2 separate regions of the Homo sapiens genome follow, and region 1 is linked to region 2. Evidence: promoter capture Hi-C in human tissues and cell types (Jung and others, 2019). All regions are on one chromosome and are shown on one strand. The core of a region is centred on a gene start or on the middle of the fragment in contact, and the rest is flanking DNA. Distances in the headings are between cores, read along the strand shown. Region 1 holds the start of ERBB3 (erb-b2 receptor tyrosine kinase 3). Region 2 holds the start of PMEL (premelanosome protein).

Region 1 (6,152 bases), core at 3,227-5,726, 110 kb before region 2:
CTGACCTCAGGTGATCCGAGCTTGGCCTTTTTTTTTTTTTTTGGTGAGACAGGGTCTCGCTCTGTTACGAGTGGCACAATCTCGCTCACTGCAGCGTCAAACTCCTGGGCTCAAGCAATCCTCCCACCTCAGCCCTCCAAGTAGCTGGGACTACAGGTGCATGCCACCATACCCAGCTAATTTTTGTATTTTTGTAGAGACAGCGTTTCACCACATTGCCCAGGCTGGTCTTGAACTCCTGACCTCAAGTGATCTGCCTTCCTTGGCCTCCCAAAGTGCTGGGATTACAGGCATGAGCCACTGCACCTGGCCTTAACTCTTGCTAATTCCTATTTGGGAGTAGGGAGTAGACTGTGTCACACTGCTGTGTCACTTCTGGGAGTGAAGACAGGCAGCTTTCTCCTCAAAGTGCCTCATACCAGTAGGGCCCCTTCCTCATCTCCCCAGGTAACCTCTTGGTCCTCAGGTTTCTCTCTGCACTAGTCCCTGCTGACCTTGCACTATCCACAGAACACCACCTGCCCCTGACCCTGCCCCCTATATATCCCTGGCTACAACAGTGAGACCATAGGTCCCAGATGACAGCCACTGTCCCCATAAATACACGGTTTTGAATCTTAGGAACTCCTGAGTCTTAGGAAGGGTGAACTCCAGCAGAAGGTAGCCCTGAAGAAGGAAGGAGGGTTCTAGGGGAGAATAAAGAGGAGCAGGTTGAGGAAGGAGGGTGGGCTCACTAACCTGCAGGAAGGAGAGGTCGGCATTGTGTCCCGTGAGCACAATCTCAAGGTTCCCCATCACCACCTCACACCTCTCGTAGAGCTTGTACAGTGTCTGGTATTGGTTCTCAGCATCGCCGGTCACACTCAGGCCATTCAGAGTCCCAGGACACACTGTTCAAAGCAGAGGGAAGAGTGGCTGAGGGCTGGACACAAATTCTCAGCCCATCTGCCATCCCCAAAGATCACCCCCTTGGTTGCCCTCTTCCAGTTACATTAGACAGGATCAGATGGCATTTGCCTCCAACCCTCCCACAAGCGATAGGCAGAAGCTGTAGTGGCCTGAGAGCTTTCTCTCTTCTCAGAATCCCCTTACCATTCCATGAATGGGAAGGTGAAAAGATTTCCTTTTTCAACCTGGGACCCCTCTGTGCTTCTTTTGGGTACTAAGGGGTTAACTGAGAAGGAAGACAGGGAATTTGTTTCTCTCCCTAGAAAAGAGAAGTTAGGAAAAGGCCGCAACTTTGATTACCCTCCTCTCCCCCTCCAACTAGGGCACTCACTTCTCTACCCTCATCCTGCCTCTCTCTAGGTCCTGGAATAAATATCTCTTTGGGACTAGTACACAGCCCCTATTGTGTCTACTGAGGGTGGGATGGGGGCAGAGGGTGGGGGCAGTGCCTGGGGCCACAGTCCAGCCCACAATGAGGCGATTCTATCCAGGAGGGGGGCTGCCCCACCCTGTCCCTAGACACCCCGTCCTCAGCAGCACTCCCCTCCACCCTCAAGCCTTGGGCTCAGACAAGTGACCTCAGTAGAGGGGGGAGCTCTGGCAGTGCTGGGGTGAGGGGGGGTCAATGGGAGCTTTGTCTTTAAAGCTGAAAGATAAGGAGCTAGTTGCCTCCCCGCCTTCCTAAACTCAGGGTTTCCTTCTCACTCTCTCCCCCATCCCAACACACTCTAGCAACCTCAGCATCACTTTCCAGCCCTAGAGTATTTTTCAGCAAATACAGAGGAACCTGGAGAGAGATAGTAGCAGATGCCCCATATTGAGCCTCCACACAATTTCATTGTTAGAAGAGGTTCATGAAAAAGCCTTTCACCATGGCAATCCTCACCCACACTAGGGGAGAGCCTAGACTAGAGGTACATGGCATGTCAGCCTTGGGAGTTCACTCTTCTTTGCAAATGTGGTGGACAACGGGCTATGGGAAGTCCTGGACTCTGAAGCCCTACCCCAGTCTCTTTCCTCTGGTTCAGGGAAAGACCATGTGTGGGGTGGGGAGTAGGGGGTAGATACCACCTGTTCCAGCCACCCTTCCCTGAGGCGGTGGTAGCTCAGTGGGAGGCAACAGTGGGAATGGAGGGAGGGAGACTGGTGAGGCCCCAATCCCTCCTATAACATACACCCCTAGTCTGACTTCTTGACCTTGGAGGGCTCCTTATCACTCCCCATGAAGGTTGGCTAGTCCCAGCAAAGAGAGCTAGTTCCAGAGGAGCTGGGAACTCCAGGGTCCTTGGGTTGAAATGAAAGAGACTAGGAAGGTTAGTCATTTCTGGAACAGCCCCACCCCAATCCCCTTCCTGGCAGGATACCCCCTTTCCCAAGTTATAGTGCCAACACTTCTCCCCAGATAAGGGAGGAGCCAAGCTTTCTGCACAGGGAAGTAGTAGTGTGGGCACACACATACACACACAATGTACACACGAACACGTACACATTGGTCCTGCTGGCTCAGGAATCTATAGTTGGGTTTCCTTGCAGGAAGTATTTCAGGTGGCCCCATCTATCCCACGTGCCCATAAGTGTTTGTGCAGACTTTGTGTCTGTGCTTGGAAGGCTACAGTGTTAGAGGTAGCCCAGTTCCCTGCTACCCTGAGGGTAAAGTCCATATTACACAAACAGGGGGCAAAGGGCCTGGGCAGGAAGGGAGCACAAACAACACCTCTGGGGAGGAGCTAGGCAGCTTGGGGAGCAGGGCAGGGGAAGGGAATCATAAAAATCCCTGCTGTACCCAGGAACCGGGAGCATAGGGAGGGGCAGTGTCACAGGCCCTCCTTTGGTAGAGAGCACTAGGGGTGGGATAGAGCCAGAATCTCCAGCCCCTCCTCAACCAGAGGCCTCCCCTCCAACATCCCCCACCCCCATCACAGCCAGGACAAAGGGGCTATAGAAGGACTGAGACAGGGCCGGATGCCCAGAGGCTGCAGGACCCAGATAAAGGGTAAAGAGACCCAACCATGCCTGCCTCCTGCCTCCCCAGGGAGGGTGGCCAGACTCTGGTACTCCTGGGTTTCTGGGTGAAGATTGCAGGAGTCTGGATGGGACAGTTATACAGTCACTCCACTGCTCCCTCCCACGCCAGTCCCCAGACCACCCCCCTCCACCAGCTGGGAGTGTTCACATCTAAAAATCCCAGGATCTAAATTTAGGCCCAGCAACTGTGAGGGAAGCACAGGTGGTTTCTTCCACTCCCACACTGGGGAAGGGGCCCTGGCTGTGCCAAACCCCAAGCTGAGATCTGAGGGGAGGGGAGGAGATCCACAGAACTTCAGTCCTCAGGTGTCCACGGTCCCAGAGACACCCCAAAGGGGTGGGCTCAGATAGCATGGGAGTCGGGGGAGGACTGGAGAAGAGCAATCCGGGGCTCTGTCTAGGGTCCTAGAGACAGTGTCAGACAATAAGCAAAATGGGGGCGGGAGGCACAAGCTGAGCCCAGGAAGGACTCCCCAAGGCAGGAGGCTTAGAAAGTAGCAGAGGTGCCCTCTTGATCCTCAGGTTGGGGAGAGAAAAGACCAGAGGCTGGACATCCTTGCCCTTACAGCTCCTGGCCCAGGGCCTTGTGTATAGTAGATGCTCAATAAATATGAGTTGTGTTGACCTGGGTCTTGACAAAGAGATGTTGCTTAAGCTCTGCTATACTGAGGAAAGGGGGCGCCAGCCTCTGTTGGGCCTCCTGCCTGATGTCACCTGAACTTGGCCCTCTGGTTAATCTCAGACCTCCCCAGGGCAGGCTCACTCACGGAAGAGGAGGTGCCGCTCCTGTTTTTCCAACACCAGAGAACAACAACCCCCTCCAACCTTCTGTAGCTCCGCCCTGTCGGCAAAACAACGAAACTAGGGGTAGCTGAAATCGGCGCGGGTGGGGGGCAGGGGGTTGGCGAGCAAACCGAGACCCTTCCCGCCAAGGCCCCCACCTCCAAGCACCTCCTGTTTACAGAATGAAGTTCCCTGCTCCCCTCCCTGCAGGGCCCCTCAGAAGTGTGAACTACTGTTTCGGCCTCAGCCTCTTCTGGGGAGACCAATTAGAGGGTCGGCGACGCTCTGGAGAAGGGTGGCGTGAGGGTCCCGGAATGCCGCCCTCGGCCGGACCACGCCGATAACCCGAGCCTGACCGCCCCTCTCCCAGGTGGTCCTGGCAAACCGGGGGCAGCACCCACAACCCCGCGCCGCCTGAGACCGTGCCCATACCCTCCGAGGCTGCGCGCACTGGGTTCCGGCTCCCAGGTGCCGAGCCCGCCGGTGCTCTCGCGCCACTTACCTGCCTGAGAGTTGCCCACCTCGGAGCCCCGGGCCAGGCTGAAAAGCAAGCCCAGCACCTGCAGAGCGTCGTTCGCCCTCATGACTCCGCAGAGGGTGAAGGGAGCCCAGCCAAGTCCGGCCCGGGGGCCCCTAGGCTAGGACATCGAGGCAAGAGCCACCTGAACCGCTGGCGAATTGGTGGCTGCTGCGGCGACGGCAGCGGAGGTTGCAAATTGCAATCGGAGCCGGAGCCGGAGTCCGGGGAGGGATGGCAGGGGAGGGGTGTGTGTGTGTGAGAGAGAGAGAGAGAGGGAGGGAGGAACGCAGAGGGAAGGGGGTGAGTCACGGCCGCGCCCCCTCCCGCGCGAGGCTGGAGTAGGGATTGCGGAGCCTCGGACCGCCTGCCCCGAGCGTGCCACGCCCCGCGGTCCCGCAACTTGGCGGAGCAGATCGAGGATGGGGCTCACCCTAATTTTTCTGCAGGAGATAGGCCAAGGGGAGGTCGAGATTCCGAAAGCCCCCAGATCCAGGGAAGGGTAATGAATGAGGGAGTGGAAAGCTCTCCAAAGCCCTGCCCCCTGAAAGTTGGCCTCGCCCATTAACCAAATCACTCAACTCCCCTAGCCGGTTGGTTCACTTGGTGGATTTTCTCTCAGAATGTGAATATTTCTCTCTGTGTGTTTTTGAGGGGGAGGGTGTTTTTTGCCTCACGTCCAGGCCACCTCAGTTTCTCCCAGACTCGAAACCCCATAATTCATCCACCCAGCCCAGGAACCCGAGCCACAGAGACCGCGTGAAATTGCACTGTCTCTGGCCGCTTCCTCCTCCAGACCCGGCGCCGGCCGGGCCTCTCCCGGGGATTTGGATGGGGGGCGGGGGTGGTTTCCAGCCTGGGAACAGACCCCGGAGCCCGCCTTTCCACTTCTACCCCGGGAGGGGCTCCCGCACCTGTCGCCGTCCCCTCTGCTGCCCCCCACGGCCGCCTGGGAGAACAGCTGCCTCCCCTTCCACACTGGAGTCTGGCCGCACCGTCCGGGCGGCCGCAGTTCCCGCCGCTCTTCTGGGGACCCAGATGGGCACACACCAAGGCGCTTACACCCTCCCAGGTGCCTTCCAAGTCCAGGCTCTCGCAGGAAAGGGGATGGGGCAGTGAAGTGGGACGCGGAGAGGACACTAGAGACTGCGTCCACGAATGGCGTGGACCTCTGGAACCTCCCCCACCAGCTGCCCGGACCTGGCCAGAGGCGGTCGGGCTCCCTGCGGGTTGCTGCCCAAAGCCCTGCTAGTCCCGGGACGGATCCGACCGGCGCCGCCTGGTGCCCATCCGTGGCAGTGGAGTCCCAGACGGCCTTGCATTTCAAATCCCTTAAACTGGTATTCGGGATCTCGCCCGGAGAGCCTAGTTGTTTTCTCCAGAACTTCAAGCCTGAAGACTTCGAAAACAGTTGAGCCTTGATAAAGAAAAATTTCACCCCTCACACCTAGCAAAGACTACCGGCTAACATTCCTTAAACATGCTCCCTATTGATATGCAACCTAGAGGGCCTGTTCTCTACTGGAGAATCTCCGCTTTGGGGAGGTTGGCTTTCTCCAGACCATGTGTATAGTAGTCATAATAATAATAGCAACAACAAAACCATTAACATATACAAACATTTCCATATATCATTTCATTTACAAAGTATGTCCTCAAACTTAGTGCCTTAGAGAATGTGTCACTTAACATAAAAATTATATGATTTAGGCAATATAACTCCCCATTTTACAGAACTAGAAGTGTGTGACCTCTCCAAGGTCATCCACCTGGTGACAGTGGTTGAGGTGATCAGGTGATTGGGAGGTGGGGCTCAGACTTTTACCTAGGGTTTCTTTCTCTCTTTTTTTTTCTTTTCTTTTTTTTTTTTTTTGAGACA
Region 2 (6,136 bases), core at 3,207-5,706:
TCTTTAAGCTCTTGGTTACAACCAAGATAAAAGACAATAAAACATATTGCTGATTTGAAGACAGCCTACTGCACCACTGTACTGTTATATTAAAGGAGATGGGAGCTTCTACATAAAGCCAGGCTTCAAGGATCCTTCAGTCTGAAAAGCCAGAGGTTGAAGGGGAACATGATCTAAATCTTTTTTTTTTTTTTTTTTTTTTTTTTTTTGAGATGGAATCTCATTCTGTCGCCCAGGCTGGAGTGCAGTGGTGCAATCTTGGTCACTGCAACCTCCATCTCCCGGGTTCAACCGATTCTCCTGCCTTGGCCTCCCAAGTAGCTGGGATTACAGGTGTGTAATCCCAAGTAGCCACACCTGGCTAATTTTTGTATTTTTAGTAGAGACAGGGTTTTAACATGTTGGCCAGGCTGGTCTCAAACTCCTGACCTCAGGTGATCCACCTACCTCAGCCTCCCAAAGTGCTGGTATTATAGGTGTGAGCCACTGCACCCTGCCTAAATCTGCAGTTTAAATGAAAGGTGTGGGTAAAGTGACCACAGTTGTCTTCACTACATTGCTGGCACCATACAACAAGGTCTACAAGCCTTGAAATGAAGGCCTGAAATAAAAGAGGCACTAAATGGAATCATTCTCCCAAATATATGCAGACTACAGCTAAAACAGCTGCAGAAATGCTTTAACTTATTTCAGGGATAAGAGATGTATACCAGGTACTAAGGCTGTTTGAGGATATCCTAACACTGTGGTTGATATCAGGGCAACAGTTGCATCCTTTCCCACCATTCCCCTTGGTGCTACTTTAGAGAGAGAACCCTGTGATAGAAGGGCCATAGGTCTGGGCCAAGAAGCAGTTCTGTTGTTCTTGGATGTGGGGAGGAGAGGGAGGGGGCTGGGTGGAACTTGGGCAAGCCTCCATACCATCTCAGCAAAGATGCAGCCCAGGCTCCAGATGTCCACAGCTGTGGAATAATATTTGCAGCCCAGGAGGATTTCAGGAGCTCGGTACCACAGGGTCACCACCTGAGGGACGGGAATAGGGAGGGGCGGGGTGGTTTATAGGGTATGGAAATTCCCGCATCTCAGTTCCTCAACACTACTCTGCTTACTCTTGGCCTCTTAACAAGCAGTTTCCTTCCCTCCATCATCTTTCCCCTCCCACTGATTTCCAGTCCATAGTTCTGGACTGAACCCCTAATTTGAGATCTTCCTGGAAAAACTTGAGACAAATTGGTCATAATTTTATTTCTAAATTTTTTCTTTTTGTAGATTTGTAGAGATGGGGTCTCGCTATGTTGCCCATGATGGTCTCGAACTCCTGGGCTCAAGTGATCCTCCCACCTCAGCCTCCCAAAGTATTGGTATTACAGGTGTGGGCCCAGTTAGCAACACAGTATGAATTCCATGCATACCCTAAGACTCTTTAGGATGTCAAGAGATTATTTCTACCTAGTAAGAAACTGTTAGCCAGATATTTTTAGTAACTTTGTGAATACCCTAGTTAACACCTCTTGGGAAGCTCAGAGAAAAAAGACATAAAGGGACTCACCTCATGGGTGTAAGTACGAACAGGGACTCCAAAAGCTCTGGCTAGTCCAAAGTCTGCTAGCTTGATGGCCCCCTCTGTGTTAATAAGCAGATTCTGAGGTTTAAGGTCTCGGTGGAGGACCCGATGAGAATGGCAGAAAGCTAGGCCCTGGAGCAGCTGGAACAGATAGCTCTGACAAAGGAGAAAGAGAGGACTGTGTTTCTCCATTACAGTGAGCAGACTGGGTTTGCTCTGTGCCCCTAAAACTCTACTAAAGCCTTTATTATGTTGGATTATAGTTACATATTTACAAGCTATTTCTCCCAATGGACTGTCAGCCCAGAGAGGATAAGGACCAAGTCTTACTCAATTTTCCATCCCTTTTCTACATCCTGTGCATTGAAAAAATGTTTGTTAATAGATTGAAAGTAGCTCTGGGAGTGAAGAATCCAGCCCTAAAATAGACAATAGGGACTCACTAGCTAGGTCTTCCACCAAATGGAAGGGCTTTTTGGAGGAATTTACCAAGTGCTCTCAAATCCCGTTTATCTGAGTTTCATCTGACCTCCCACCTGAGTTGCTAGGTTGACTCACTAGAGTTTCAACTTTGATTGTTCAGTCCAACCCTAGGGTTAATGAATATAATGAGCAGGGAAGGAGACACAAAAAGAAGGGGAGTGTGTGTGTATAGGAGATGAGGGCTCAGAAGGAGGCCAAAATCATAAAATATCACCCTGAATTGCCTGCCACCAGTCCCCCAAGACATGCCCATGATGAGAGGAGCTGATGAGAAGCATTACCTTGATGAGGGGAAGAGGAATGCCAGTGAGAGCAGAGGCATCCATGAATTTCTTGAGATCTTGGTGCAGAAATTCAAAAACCAGGTAGAGTTTATTTTCTGTGTGAATGACATCCAGCAGCCTAGAGAAGGAAAGTTTGAGGAAATGGAGGTGTGTGAGAGAGAGAAATGCCCACACTGTACAGACAGAACTTATCCTCCTTTCCAGCTGGATCACCTCTCAGACGCATACTTACTTGACAATATTAGGATGGTTAAGCTCCTTAAGCAGAGAGATCTCTCGGATGGCAGTACTGGGCACACCCTCAGTCTCACTTGGAGAGGTTGGGAAAGCAGAGATGGGAATATGGTTACAAATATTCCTTTCCCCCCCACCTAGTCATTTCTTTCCCCCAAGGAGACACCACCCAGCACCCCCTAGGAAAGTGAGAGAAGAGAAAGGGTGATGGTAAGAGCTAATTCTTGGGTAGTCAGGGTGTGGTTTTTGGATATATTAAGGCCATTATCTCCTCTTTTCCCAGGGGTAGGTAAGTAAAGCCGCCTGGTGAAGGTGAAGCAGGGAGACTGTAATGGAGGGGAAAAAATGCAGGAGTAGCCCCCAGCCTCCCCAGAGGGGCCAGTGAGGTTCAACTGCCATTCTTTGGAAAGAGGAGAGAATTCTAAGGTGAGGGTGGGGCAGTGAAGAGGGCTCTTCATTCAGAAAGGCGATTCTCGCCGGTTCCCACATAACTCCACTCCATGGAGAGTCTTGGACCTCATCTCAGAGACCTCCTTTCTCTCCCCGAGTCTGTAGTCGCACATTTGGGGGCACGATCCGGCTCAGTTTGGGAAGAAAGTTTTCCATGGATTCCACACCACCCTATACTCTCCCCAGGGAGTATAAGTATACTCTTCACCTTCTACTGGCCCCCAACCCACCTCTCCACTTCTAAAGAAGTCCCTCCCTGCTCTCTTCCGGTCCCTGGACGGCTACCCGCCCGTGGGGGGTTGGGGGGGACAATCAAGGAGGTCCCCAGTTAGGAGTCCCGGGTACAGAGGCCACTCACGTGTCCAGGCGGATTTTCTTAAGCGCCACCACCTCTCCCGTCAACTTGTTTCTGGCTTTGTACACAACTCCGTACGTGCCCTCTCCGATCTTTTCCACCTTTTGGAAGTTCTCCATGAAGCGCCAGCGAGTCGGGTCAGCCCGGCCCTGGAGCGGGGGCCTGGGAACCCTGCAGAAGGCGGACCCTGGCTCTCGGGGGCCGAGGAGGGGGAAACAGGGCCCAGTACCGTGGCCCCGGGTCGGGATGGAACGCAGTATACCTCTCGCTCTTGTCAATTTGGCCAACTTGAAACAATGTTGCCGCCTCCCACCGAGTTCCCGACCGCCACCAGAGGCCCCGCCCCTGCTTCCCGCGTTTCCCTGGCTCCGCCCCCAGGCCTTTCTATTGGTCAACGTCAGAGCCGGGGGGCGAGCCCAGCGCTCCTCCCCGCAAATGATCCCGCCCCAGGCAAGTTTGGTTCTTGGGGGCTAGACAAGTTTCTTCCCCGGTGGGGCGGCTGAACACTCTTCCCAAGTACCTGCTTTGGGTCCAAGTTTCCTACCTATGTCTCTAGTCTGTAGGGATTTCTTGATTTCTAACTCACTATTTTCACCAATCCTGGGGAAAATATGTATCGACCTAAGGTTAAATTCCACCTGGCCCAGGAGCCTCCTTTGGAAACCAGGAAGCCGGGAATCTCGTTGCAAAGGAATCCTGGGCCTCAGAGGAGTCGTTGCCTCTGCCTCATAGCATACCCCGACACTGTCTCTGTTTTGGGATGCAGGGTTCTGTTTCTGTCTTTTTGAGAAGTTCCTGGTTTAATTCACTCTCCCATGATAAACTGTTGTGTCTGGTATGTGTTACGCAGCTGCCTTTCAGTTAGCTCTTGCCCGGGAGTGCATCAAGATGAGAGTGACCCAGTGAAACCAGAAACTGTCATTGAGTAGCAGGATGGGAAAGCAATGTCTAGGGACCAGGATCCCTTTGTCAGTTTTTCCTTTTTCCTCTCCTCCGGCCCCTCCCAGGCCTTCTCTGAGGGAGAAGAGGAAGGGCTATGCAAATGAGCACCCTTTTCTTATATAGGGGCCTATCCCAGTCCCCCCAGTGCCTTTGGTTGCTGGAGGGAAGAACACAATGGATCTGGTGCTAAAAAGATGCCTTCTTCATTTGGCTGTGATAGGTGCTTTGCTGGCTGTGGGGGCTACAAAAGGTATGTGTGGATATGTGGACATGAGCAGGTGTGAACTTGGGGATGAATTCCCCCTGCTCTGGTTTCTGTCCTCCTAATGGGAGATAGCGGCAATATTTCAGGCGTCTCCCACTCATTTGATTTAGTGAGGATGTGGGCACCTGGGCTCCCTCCCTACATGGAGATTTGGGATTTTGCCTGAAAATAATCTCATATGCTTGGAGGGGCAGAAGGATAGAAGGTCTCTGTGGCACTGATTCTGAGGCTTCCTTGGCAGTGAGCTGGAGCACGGGCTCCAAAGGGGTGAAATGTGCAGGAGACTCTTTTAGGAAACGTCTCTTGGGGTAGGAGATTTAAAGTGGGGAGTCAGAGAATGTGGTATTGGGTAAGAACACTAAGGAGATACAATCCTCTCCTCTTGGGATGGGTACGGGTGAACACAGCCCAGACCTTTTGTTCTGGGGCTGGAGAGATAGGCAGAGGGGTCTCAGCTGAGCATCACATGAAAGGGCTCTGGGGGATTGGGCCTCGTGACAGGAGCAAGGGGCGGGGGTGGGGTGGTGAGAGGGTCTGGAATGTCCCGTGCTGCTCTGAGGAGAGTTGGAAGTGGAGAAAGAATGGGGTATCTTATGACTTCTCTTGTTCTAGTGGTGGGATGCTCAATAGATGATTCCAGATCCTCCCCCAGCAGAATCAACTAGGGTTACAGCACACATTAGAAAGGGAATGAGGCCGGGCGCCGTGGCTCACGCCTGTAATCCCAGCACTTTGGGAGGCTGAAGCAGGTGGATCACGAGGTCAGGAGTTCGAGACCAGCCTGGCCAATATGGTGAAACCCCCGTCTCTACTAAAAGTACAAAAATTAGCTGGGCATGGTGGCACATGCCTGTAGTCCCAGCTACTCAGAAGGCTGAGGCTGGAGAATCACTTGAACCCAGAAGGCAGAGGTTGCAGTGAGCCAAGATCACACCAATGCACTCCAGCCTGGGTGACAGAGCGAGTCTCCGTCTCAAAAAAAAAAAAAAAAAGAAAGGGGATGAGGCCCGGCACAGTAACTCATGCCTGTAATCCTAGCACTTTGAGAGGCTGAGACGGGTGGATCACTTGAGGTCAGACCAGCCTGGCCAATATGGTGAAACTCCATCTCTACTAAAAATACAAAAATTAGCTGGGCATGGTGGTACGCACCTGTAATCCCAACTACTTGGGAGGCCGAGGCATGAGAATCGCTTGAACCTGGGAGGCAGAGGTTGCAGTGAGCCGAGATCACACCATTGCATTCCAGCCTGGGCAACAGCAAGACTCTGTCTCAAAAAAATAAAAAAAGAAAAGAAAAGAAAAGAGATAAGGAGGCCGGGTGTAGTGGCTCACACCTGTAATCCCAGCACTTTGGGAGGCCGTGGTCATAGGATTGCTTGAGCCCAGGAGTTCAAGACCAGCCTGAGCAACATAGTGAGACCTTGTCTCTACGAAACGTAAAAAAATTAGCCAGGCCTAGGCCAGGCTTGGTGGCTCACGCCTGTAATCCCAGCACTTTGCGAGACCAAGGCAGGTGGATCAGCTGAAGTTGGGAGTTTGAGACCAGCCTGACCAAC

What was found. The method cuts DNA at HindIII sites, captures the fragments that hold promoters and counts their contacts. A contact is called where the count stands out against the background at its distance.
Region 1: a contact is called between the fragment with the promoter of ERBB3 here and the fragment with the promoter of PMEL in region 2, in 2 of the 25 tissues and cell types used here (aorta and mesenchymal stem cells).

The regions. Positions count from the first base shown.
Region 1 is chr12:56,078,489-56,084,640 of GRCh38, reverse strand. It overlaps ERBB3 (erb-b2 receptor tyrosine kinase 3), which reads right to left and starts at 4,476. Exons shown (of 28, transcript NM_001982.4): 1 at 4,259-4,476; 2 at 739-890. The coding sequence starts at 4,340. RefSeq lists an enhancer at 3,829-4,819. The HindIII fragment of the contact is 14,559 bases long and covers 219-6,152 here.
Region 2 is chr12:55,964,362-55,970,497 of GRCh38, reverse strand. PMEL (premelanosome protein) reads left to right here and starts at 4,456. Exons shown (of 11, transcript NM_001384361.1): 1 at 4,456-4,562. The coding sequence starts at 4,487. CDK2 (cyclin dependent kinase 2) reads right to left here and starts at 3,668. Exons shown (of 7, transcript NM_001798.5): 1 at 3,374-3,668; 2 at 2,564-2,641; 3 at 2,329-2,449; 4 at 1,550-1,720; 5 at 922-1,023. The coding sequence starts at 3,489. RefSeq lists an enhancer at 3,898-3,977. The HindIII fragment of the contact is 17,930 bases long and covers 1-6,136 here.